Linked DNA regions of Homo sapiens: all the other regions are linked to region 3. The links are contacts of gene promoters, found by promoter capture Hi-C in human tissues and cell types (Jung and others, 2019). All regions are on one chromosome and are shown on one strand. The core of a region is centred on a gene start or on the middle of the fragment in contact, and the rest is flanking DNA. Distances in the headings are between cores, read along the strand shown.

Evidence for each region. Contacts are between HindIII fragments. The study calls those that stand out against the background at their distance.
Region 1: a fragment that was not itself captured here is called in contact with the fragment with the promoter of NTNG2 in region 3 in 2 of the 25 tissues and cell types used here (IMR-90 fibroblasts and hippocampus).
Region 2: a fragment that was not itself captured here is called in contact with the fragment with the promoter of NTNG2 in region 3 in 2 of the 25 tissues and cell types used here (dorsolateral prefrontal cortex and lymphoblastoid cells).

The regions. Positions count from the first base shown.
Region 1 is chr9:131,936,390-131,940,102 of GRCh38, reverse strand. MED27 (mediator complex subunit 27) reads left to right here. Exons shown (of 8, transcript NM_004269.4): 4 at 629-722. Among named protein-coding and RNA genes, the nearest start is that of MED27, 140 kb to the left of the region's middle. The HindIII fragment of the contact is 5,314 bases long and covers 1-3,713 here.
Region 2 is chr9:131,953,347-131,956,870 of GRCh38, reverse strand. All of the region lies in intron 3 of MED27 (mediator complex subunit 27), which reads left to right. Among named protein-coding and RNA genes, the nearest start is that of MED27, 120 kb to the left of the region's middle. The HindIII fragment of the contact is 4,027 bases long and covers 1-3,524 here.
Region 3 is chr9:132,159,877-132,163,820 of GRCh38, reverse strand. It overlaps NTNG2 (netrin G2), which reads right to left and starts at 1,763. Exons shown (of 8, transcript NM_032536.4): 1 at 1,582-1,763. LOC124902291 (a long non-coding RNA gene) reads left to right here and starts at 2,121. Exons shown (of 2, transcript XR_007061826.1): 1 at 2,121-2,205; 2 at 3,218-3,363. The HindIII fragment of the contact is 9,283 bases long and covers 1-3,944 here.

The DNA of each region.
Region 1 (3,713 bases), core at 1,154-3,653, 220 kb after region 3:
ACACCCCATCTCTACTAAAAATATAAAAAGTAGCCAGGTGTGGTGGGGATCGCCTGTAGTCCCAGCTACTCGGGAGGCTGAAGCAGGAGAATCGCTTGAACCCGGGAGGCAGAGGTTGCAGTGAGCCGAGATCACGCCACTGCACTCCAGCCTAGGTGACACAGCAAGACTCTGTCTCAAAGAAAAAAAAAAAAAAAAAAAAGGAAGGAATTTAATCCTGGGAATTGGTTATTCCAGTGATTCAAAGGAGAAGCCAGATTAGACAGTGAGACAGCCCGGAGGTGCGCAACAGCAGGACACTGCTGCCATCCTGGACTGGAAGGACAAAGGGAGGGGGCCATGTTGTTGGAGTCCAGTGGCCCAGCAGGTGACACAGCTAAATTCTGACCTCCTATAGAAGAAGATTAATAGTCATGCCTTAAAATGAAAAATCAAGAACTAGCATTAAAAACACATTATCTGGACATACAGAGGTAAAGACTAAAAGGTTTCTAATTCTATTTGCCTTCTTAAAAATGTGTTATATTGATTTAAAATTATATTTAAAAGCAATGTCTTTTGAATACTATTAATCTGTAGCTCTTAACTGGAGTTGTAGTTCACACATGTTTATTTTTTTCCCATGTAGATATGTTGATGATGTGATCAGCCGCATTGACAGGATGTTTCCTGAAATGTCCATCCACTTATCCAGACCCAATGGAACATCAGCAATGCTTCTGGTAAGATCAGCTTGACTGATTTGTAGGGATGTTGGGGGAAAAAATGGACTTCACAATTAACTCTCTGGTCCTGTGTTGTAGGATCTAGAGAATGGGGATTAAATTCCAATTTGATAGTGAATAACATAGTTTCTTTACTGGCATTCTGTAGGTTAAGAATTCTGCACATTGAAACCTTGCTTTTGAACAAAATTTCAGACCCCATGTAAGACTTAACCAGAGAGGAAAGACACTGTAAGACCATTTCACCTTAAGTCACTTAATGCAACCTCCCAATGTTTTGGCGAATCTGTTTTCTATTTTCCCCAAAGGAGTATAGTAGACAATAGTGATGCTCAACTGTTGGATCCTGCTAAAGAAAACACTCTCGCCAGGCGCGGTGACTCACGCCTGTAATCCCAGCACTTTGGGAGGCTGAGGCGGGCGGATCACGAGGTCAGGAGATCGAGACCATCCTGGCTAACACAGTGAAACCCCATCTCTACTAAAAATACAAAATATTAGCCGGGTGTGGTGGTGGGTGCCTGTAGTCCCAGCTGCTGGGGAGGCTGAGGCAGGAGAATGGCATGAACCTGGGAGGCGGAGCTTGCAGTGAGCCGAGATCACTCCACTGCACTCTCCAGCCTGGGTGACAGAGCAAGACTCCTTCTCAAAAAAAAAAAGAAAAAAAAAGAAAACACTCTCTTAATATAAAACCAGAATATTATGTATTTGAAGAAAGTGTTCTGAGACTGATGACTTCTGGTTTTGCTGTTTCTGATTATGGTTTGCTCTGAACACATCGCCTCATAATCTCCTAGAAGATGTTTGTATTTGCATGAATTCACCGAAGACAGGTGTGTTTTGGAAATACAGTGGGATAGAAATGCTAAATTATGTTATTAATTAGGAAGGCATAGAGACCTCAATGATGAGAAGCTTTTCTAGTGGTCTGTGTAATAATACTTGTATGTGCTTGAAGAATACTTCCCTGAACACAGATTTTTGAGGAACCACCACATTTTATAAAAAGCAGAGTTTATTGAATAAGAATGATGGTTTCGATGGGCGTCAGGGAGGTAAGGTTCAGGACTGGGTATTTTTTCCATCTATTCTGCTGTTGCTGCTTTGGAGCCTAGTGTGAACTCCCCATATTTTAGCATTTTACTTGTGTGAAATCTTATAAATAGCCAGTCACCCAGGATGAGTTACTGTTTACTCCAGCCGTTCATCTTCGGGGAGCATTGTGTGTGCGTGCGTGTTTTGGTCTTAAGACAGGAAAAGATCTGGGCTTGTTAAATGTTTGTTACTTCGTTTGTGGGGGAAACAAATTAGTGACATTCACCTGGATAACATAATATTTAAAAAATTTCTTTCAGTTAAAACATAAAGAAAAGGAGATAATGCGATGTTTTTTTCATAGAAAAGGGAAACAGTTTTCTTCATATAAAATACATCTGTCTACAGAACACAAAATATCGTCTGCCTCCAGAGGTTGCAGTGAGCTGAGATCGCGCCATTGCACTCCAGCCTGGGCAAAAGAGCGAGACTCTGTCTCAAAAAAAAAAAAAAGTCTGCCTCAGTTAAATGTACAAATTGCCCAGATTTTAAGATACCCCAGACCTAGCAGTTGAAACATAAACCCTGCTCTCAGCATACCTGACAGGGCCCCAGAGAGTTAATGAAGATAAAAATGAATGCATCCTCAGTGAAATAGGTTTGTTCAAATTATTTCTGGGTCATTGAGCTCCCATTTCATAATGAGGGTGGGATTTGGCATTGAAGGGAATGAGCAGAGGGAACAGGATTCCAGGCAAACAGGCCACACAGATGAGTTCCTTCCACCTGAGAAGGCAGGCATGTATTTCACAGTGATGGTCGACCTCGCCTGCTTTCCCATGGAGCTTCTGTCCTAATAGACTGATGAGAGAGTTTAGGGGCTCAATTCAAGGCAAGAATCACATTTCATATGCCCTGTTTATTTACTACCACTAACACCCATCCACCCCCGCTAATTCAGACACGTGGATCTAGGTGCCTACTTGTTACCTTTCTTCAGCGACACAGGAACTCACAGAAGCTGGTGCTTACTTACAGGGCCAGTGGTAGGTGATTTGATTCAGAATCAGATTGCCATGGGCCATGGGGTTAATCATACTTTTAACATAATGCCTGCATTTGGCATTTACTATTAAAAGTTGGAATTTTATGAGATGGCAAATCTCTAGGCTATTCACTGCTACCACATCCATCGTGAGGTGGGTGATGGGAATTCCTACCTGGAGGGGGAGCAGGACCAACAGATGCCACCTCCCCCACTACCTACTGCTAGTCACCTGTTCCCCAAAAAGTGTTTTCTGGAGATGAATCTGGAATAAATTGATTTATTCTGGAATGCAGTGTATTCCTGAAGGCTTTGGGGGCAAGCGAGACTGATGGGGAAAGACCAGTTAAGAGGCCGTTGAAGCAGGGTGCACTTGAGCAGTCTCAGCTGACACCTTCCTTTACCTCCCTCGGCAAATGTACGAACTGTGCCTGTGCTTTTGAAATAAAACGGCATTTCCTCCTGAATTGGCTGGGCTTCCTTGAATGCAGTCAACAGAAACTCTGATTGACTTACATAAGGAAAGAGTTGGTTTTGGTTTTGCTGTTTGATGGTGCCAGGTGCATCAGACTCAGTGATTAATCTGACCTGCCCGGCAGGACAAAAACCAGAGTAGCTCCAGGCATGTCAGGAACAAGATCAGGACAACGTTTTTTAGGGGGCCCCATGGCCCAAATGATTCCGTATTAACCGCCTTCCATCCCTGTGCATACAACCTGGGAAGAACACTCCTGCTGGCCTAGCCTGCAGTTGCTCCTTGCCCTGAGCCCAGAGGATGGGGGAGTCAGGCCTTGGCAGCCCCACAGAACTGCAAGGAGTGGAGGGGAAGTAATTCCCTAGAGGAACCAGCCGTCTGTATGGCACAGTGAACGTCTGTGTGGACAGAGTCTTGTGGCTTACACAGCACT
Region 2 (3,524 bases), core at 401-2,900, 210 kb after region 3:
TCTAGTCCTACTCTGCTGAAAGTGTGTATGTGTTTTTTTTTTTTTAATCATCAATTGGGTGTTGAATTTTGTCAAACGTTTTTTCTGCATTTATTGAGGTGATCAAATGATTTTCCTTTATTTTAATATGGTAAGTTACATGGCATGGATTGATTTTTAAAAAATTCTTATTAAGTACACATAACAGATAATTTAACCACTTTTAAATGTTACAATTCAGTGGCATTAAGTACATTCACTTTTTTTTTTTTTTTTTGAGGCGGAGTCTCACTCTGTCACCCAGCTGGAGTGCAGTGGCGTGATCTCGGCTCACTGCAACTGCTGCCTTCTGGGTTCAAGCAATTCTTGTGCCTCAGCCTCCTGAGTAGCTGGAATTACAGGCGCCTGCCATCATGCTTGGCTAATATTTGTATTTTTAGTAGAGATGGGGTTTCGCCATGTTGGCCAGGCTGGTCTCAGACTCCTGACCTCAGGTGATCTGCCCGCCTCGGCCTCCCGAAGTGCATTTACATTTTTGTGCAGCCATCACCGCCATTCATCTTCAGAACTCTTCATCTTGCAAAACTAAAACTGTGCCCACTAACTGTAACTTCCAATTCCCACTCCACCATCTCCTGGCAGCCACCATTCTACTTTCTGTCTCTATGGATTTGACCTCTGTAAGTATATCCTAAAAGTGGAATCAGACAGTATTTATTTTTTTCTGACTTAGCGTAATTTCCCCAAGGTTCATACCTTTAGCAGGTGTCAGAGTAATATTTCATGGTATGGCTAGAACACAGCATGGGTTGATTTTTGAATGTTAGTCCAATTTTGCATTTCTGGAATACACTTGATCATGATATATTATCTTTTTTATATATTGCTGGATTCTATTTGCTAATATTTTATTAAGGAATTTTGTATCTTTGTTCATGGAAGAGTATTGTCTATAACTTTCTTTTTCTTTTGTAGTGTCTTTCTCTAGTTTCAGTATCAGGATAATGCTTGATCCATTAAATGAGTTGAGAAATATTTTTTCTCTGTTTTCTGAATTTCCATATGATTGATACTATTTCTTCCCTAGATAGTTGATAGATTTAACTGAGGGATCTGTGTGGGTCTGGAGTTTTCTTCATGGGAAGATTTTTAATAACAAATTCACTTTTAGCAAAATAGATGTAAAGCTTTTTAGATGTTTATTTCTTCTCATGTCAGTTATATAACTTACATCTTTCAAAGACATCCACTTCGTCTAGCTGTCGAAGAGATTGGTTCATAGTATTCTCTTCTAATGCCTCTAGAATCTGAGCGATGTCTCATCATTCATTCCTGATATTGATAAATTATCTTCCCTCTTTTTGCTCTTGATCAGTCTAACTAGCGACTTCTCAGTTTTGTTGATTTTTATTTCCATAACCTGCTCTTGGTTTTGGTGATTTTTCTGTATCTGTCTTCTATTTCATTGATTTACACACATTATTGCCTCCTTGTACTTACCTTGGATTTAATTTTCTCTTCTTTTTCTTTTTTTAATGGAAGCTTAGATATTTGATCTTCAAGTCTTTTTTCTTTTCTTATATAGGCTTTTAAAAACTATAAATTTCCCTCTGAGCATGGTTTTAGCTGCATCCCACACGTTTTAATATATTTTTATCATTCAGCCCAAGGTATTTTCTAATTTCTCTTGTGATTTCTTCTTTGACCCGTGAGTTGTTTAAAAGTGTGTTTAATTTCTGAATATATGGGGGCTCTTTATGTTATATTTTTGTTATTTATTTTTCACTTCAGTTGTGGTCAGAGAACATATTCTGCATGTTTCGAGACCCGGCTTATGGTCTGTCTTGGTGAGTGTTCCAGGTGCACTTGGAAAGGATGTACCTTCTACTGTTTTGGGATATAGAATATATATGTCATTGGGTTAACCCTGTTCAAGTCTTCTGTATTCTTACTGACTTTCTGTCTACTTGTTCTGTCAATTACTGAGAGAGGCGTGGTATTGACTATTTTTTAGGAGCATACACATTTAGGATTGTTATGTCTTCTGGATGAGCTCATCCTTCTAAGCTTTTAAAAAAATAATAATAATTCTTATGACCTTCCTTGCTTATAAATAATGGGTTTCGTTCACCCCTGAAGTTGTCCCCTTTCTCTGGGCAGAGGAGTTTCTTTGGGGTGGCATGCTATGGGAGAGAAATAGGTAGTAGGGCTCAGAGGGTCAGTGGTAGCATTGATGAGCAGAGGGGTCAAATTGATTCACTTTCTTTCTCCTCTGATATACAATATAAAAGAGTTTCTGCCAGAACTTGAAAGACTGCCACAAGACTTCTCAGCTTCAGGAGATCACAGCTGAGGCTAGTTAATGGTTTGTTGAGGCCACCTTAAACCTGTAGAGGGCACCCTCTAAAAGTTTGTTCAGGGCATTGCAAGCATCAATCCACCTGTCTCAGGTAGACTCCTAGATTTGGCTCCACTGAGAGAAGTATGTTCTGGTGTGGTTTTTAACTCCTTTGAAAAGGGCAAAAGGGATTTTGGAGCCACTGAGCGTGCATGCTGCTGGCTGTGGGAAAGACATTTTCTATCAAGGAGGCCCTCCTCCTGTGCTCACATCACACATTCCCAGACATGCATCCCAGTGTGGTCAGCTCCCAGCTGATTGATCACTGGCAGCCCTTGCTTAGTGGTGCTGCTTACCTAAACACCCTGGCCACTCCTAGGGTGCTTGTCCATTTCTCCTTCTTCAATATATGCAAATATATGCATGAAAACTTTTTTAAAAAGATAAAAAGGCTGGGCATGGTGGCTCATGCCTGTAAACCCAGCACTTTGGGAGACTGAGGCGGGCGGATCATCTGAGGTCAGGAGTTTGAGACCAGCCTGGCCAACATGGCGAAACCCTGTCAAAAATTAACCGGGTGTGGTGGTAGGGGCCTGTAATCCTAACTACCCAGGAGGCTGAGGCACAAGAATCACTTGAACCCGGGAGGCAGAGGTTGCAGTGAGCCAAGATCATGCCACTGGCACTCCAGCCTGGGTGACAGACAGAGACTCCATCTCAAAAAAAAAAAAAAAAGATATAAAAGTGAAGATTTATTTAGAGTGGGGGAAAAAAAACCCCACAATTTACGAACAAGGCAAAACCCTTTTGGAACGAAGCTGTTTAATTACCTGCCTTACTGTAAGATAGTGTTTCTAAACTCAGTCATTTGCAAACCAACTGTAGAATTTTTGCCATAACCTTTGGCCAGCTGTTCTATTATTTGTATAGTATTTTTAATATTCTTAAATAATGTAATTTTAATTATAATTTGTATAATATTTGTATAATTTTTTAAAGCCTAGCCTCTGTGGTACCATGACTGAGCAATGCTATCTATGAAATCACAGGTTTTATTTACTAGTTGTATATTGTTCTATACCTACAGATATTGAAATGAAAAATGTTCATCCATATATCACCTAAAACCACTTTTATGTGTATGACATTTTGGAAACTGTTAGTCTGTGCAAATTCACACCTGCAAATATGAACTTGACAGTAAACT
Region 3 (3,944 bases), core at 514-3,013:
TTATCAGGATTTCTGAACTCAGATTTCTCTGTCTTATTGAATTAGCGCCTCCCGAGCTGGCTGGGCTCGCCAGCAGGTTCCTCTTGGAGTTGCCTGCTGCGCCCTCGCCGTGTGGGAAACTTGCCGCGGCGGGCGCGGGGCCCCTGGGGGCACGGGAGGGAGGGCGCTGGGGGCTCCCGGGGCTAGGGGGGATACTCAGCCCACCCCGGGGTTCCCTCTCCCTCCTCGGCAGGGGCGGCAGAGGGGGGTGAAATCTGCTTTCAGGGGAGAGTGGCGGTTGCCGGGAGGGAAAGGGAGCTTGGCCGGCGGGGTCACCTTCCCGTCCTCTGCCCCGGGCGGGGTCCAGCGGGCGCCCCGCGCTCACTGTAGCCTCGGCGGGCCTCTTAATTCCGGCGGCCCGGGTGTCCCCCCGCTCCGGAGCGGGCCCTTTATCCGGCCCCTGGGTCCCCGCCCGCGGGAGCCCTGGAAAGTTGGGCGCGGGAGGCGGGGCGCGAGCAGCAGCTCCCGGGTGGGTCCCGGCGGGCCGCGGGCGGGGTCGAGGCCGGGGCCAGGGTCGAGTCAGTGCTTCGGGCCGGCTGCGAGCCCTGTGCCTAGGACACCGACGACCCGGCAGCCCCGCAGCTGCTTTTCGTCTTCCCAAAGTTGCGTGCAAGCCACGGCAGCAATTAATAATTAAGCCCGTAATAAAGGCCCGGCCGGGACTGAGGCGCCCCCTTTTTCGGCACTGCCTCTCTTAATTAAAAGACACAGAGCAGGGCGCCCAGGAACTGGCTGTATCCTTTGCCCCGGCGCTGCCGCCTGTGGCGACCCGGCCGCCGCCGCCCCCAGCCCAGACGGCCAACTTACTCCGGAGCGGGCGGACCCCGCGAGCCCGCGGTCCTCTCTTCCCGCCTTCCCGCCGCCTCTGCTCCCCCCACCTGCGCGCCGCTCAGTTCCAGGTTCGACTCCACGCCGGCCCCAAACCAGTGCCTGCGCCCCCTCACCTCCCGACCCCCTCCCGGCGCCGGGAGAAGTTTCCAGCCGGACTGGCCGGGAGTTTCTCTGTGCAACTCACAGGCTCCCAGTTTGCAGAGAGATGGGAGGGCACGGGATGGGGGTGGCTCTAAGCGGTGGCGGTGGAATTGGGGTGGGGGAGAGGCGCGGGAGCAGGGTTAGTTTCCTTTTCCGAGACACATCCGAGCATCCTTGCAACATCCCTCCCCGACACACACACACACACACACACACACACACACACACACACACACACACTCTGTCTCTCTCTCACACACACACACACACACACTCTCACACACACGACGGAAAGGACCCGGGGGAAGCTGGCCAGAAAGACAAGCTACCCCTTTAAGATGCTGCTAAGAACGCACCCTCACACACCCCTCTGGGGCGACTCCAGTTCTCAGCTCGTAGCAGCCGCCACCAAACAACTTTTGCATCCGAGCCTTTGCCGGGCCGCTGTAAGTGGCTCCCGGGCCCGGGCAAGCCTGCATGGTCACCGAAGCCCTTTAAAAATGAAACCGGCCTGGCCAAGCTGCAGCCTCTCCCCCCGCCCGCCTCCCGGGCTCTCCCCGCCCGCCTTACCCCGGCTCGGAGCGGCTTCCCGGCGCGGAGACCTGGGAGGGCCGAGGACCGCCACCCTCCGGCGCTGCGCCTCCCCCCTCGGGCTGGCGCTGGGTGGGGGCGCGGGCCGAGGGCTGCGAGCCGCTGCTCCTTCCCCGCGCCGCTCCCGCCGCTGTGGCCGCCGCCGCCGCCGCCGTCAGATCGGGGCCAGGGAGCCCTCCGGCCGCCGGGGGGGCCGCCCGCAGCCGTCCCGGAGACGCGGGCCGGGGGAGGGGGCCGCCCGCGCCGCCCGCATCGCCCGCCCGGGCTGAGCGGGAGGTCGCCGCTAACAAGTGCAAACTTTTTGGCCCCCCTGGGCGGCCCGGGGAGGACCCGCGCTCGGGCGCCGGGCAGCCCCCGGCCCGGGTGGGCTTCGCGGCGTCTCGTCGGGGAGCCGGGGCATCCCCCCGGCGCGGCGCGGGCCAGATGGCGGGCGCTTCACTGCCCCCCTGCACTCCGCTCCAAGTTAATGCCGAGGCTAAATCCTCTTGCCATCACTCACGATCACCATCGGGGCTTTTATCTCTCGGTCTGATCCGGGCTGCGTAACTTCCTCTGTGTGGCTTTAACACACCATCCCACCACGGAGCAACGGTCTTCTTAAAGGTGCAGGAAGGAAATATTGCGCGGCTCGGGGGACGCGCCACGGCCCGGGGAGGGGCGCGGCGAGCAGGGGCGTCCCGGCGGGCCCGTGGCCAGGGTGGCCCCGGCAGCCTCTGGGGGGTCGCTGCCTAAACATCGCCTCCCGGCCCGGGGGCCAGCGGGTCCCTGCGCCCAGAGCGCATCCTCAGCCGGCTCCGGTCAGGCGCAGCCGGGCTGCAGCTTCCTCTTCCAAAACCCGGGGGCCTGCCGGGGTGCCAGCGCCCATGGGTGTGGGGGCTGCCCCATCGGCACGAGGGAGGGGGGCCAAGTGAGTCAGTTCCCCCACCCCCCACAGCCAAGGGCTCAGGGCTGCTCCTCGGTCTCTCTCTGTGAAGTGCTGCCACCCAGAAGGCCCCAAGCAGTGGGTACCGGGGTGGGTGGGTGGATTTGGGGAGATGGGGAGGGGGAGCGATCTGAGCGCACAACCAGAGCCTGAATACCAGCTGACACATCGCCGCCTCCACCCTGATGGGCCCTGCTTTTGACGAAGCCAAGCCAGCTCTGCAGGGAGTGCAGAGTAGTGGGGCAGGAGGGGCCTGGCTGAGGGGTTCTCTGTCTCCCTCCCCTGCAAGCATGGGAGGCAGGTGTGGGAGGGCTCCGGTAGCAGCAGCCCCGGGCAGAGGCCACCGAGTTCACAATATCATATCCGGCAGCCCTGGGCTCTCTGATCCCCAGGAGGTTTCCTGCCAGCCTGCCTCCCAGGGCTTCTGGGAGAGTTTCCACATCTTCCAGAAGCACATGTGGTTTTCGGACACTCCTGGCCTCCTGGGGTGGGCTCACTGCAGCCTTGAGCAGCCAGCACTGTCATTTGGATGCATCAAGAACAAAGGGCCTGAGGACAGACAGAGAGAGAGGCAGAGAGAGAGAGACCAGCCCAAGGTCACAGAGGGTGTTGGGAATGGAGCAAGACATGGCACCTCAGTGCCCCGCCCTGCTGCCACCCTTCACCTCCACCTTAACCCTTCCCTGTTCTCAGCTGCCCTGAAAACTGGAGACGGAGTTATACTGCTGAATAATATTTGGAATCTTGTGACAAAACAGGAAGAGGATGCAGAATTAAAGACTGTCATCTGCTGTAATAATAATAATAATATATTTATTGAACACCTGTTTTATGCCAGACTCCATGCAAACCAGTTTGTGTGCATTATTCACTGAATCTTCGCCAAAGCCCTGTGACTTCACTGCTAGTAGCAAAGCCTCAAGTTAGAGATGTTAAGTAACTTGCCCAAGGTCACATAGCTAAGGATTGTGGCCGGGGAGGCAGGGCTTTTGGGTTTCTGGGTGATGCTCTCTCACTGGCCTGGCTGGCTGGTGAACTTGGAACACGGCCCAGACTGCTTTGGGGCTCAGTTTCCCCATATGTGAGATATGAACGGTAAATCCTTCTTTTTTCAAAGAGGGGTCAAAAAACAGGGCCATTGTGTGCCTCTACCTGCACATGCTCTCAGATGCCTACCACTGGAGATGGGCCTATCTCACCAAGCAGCCCAGGAAGGCAGACATGGGCCCACCCCTGGTTACCTGTTCTATGCAGGAGGAAGCTCCTTGGGAGAAGAGAACAGATCTTGGTGGTTTGATTTTTAAGCATTCAGCCTGCAGGCAGCAGTGAAGGGCAGGGTGTGGGGCTCCTGCACAGGGTGAGTGATGACCAGGGTCAGCCCTCAGCCTGCTGTCACCCCAGGGCATGGTCATCAATCCCT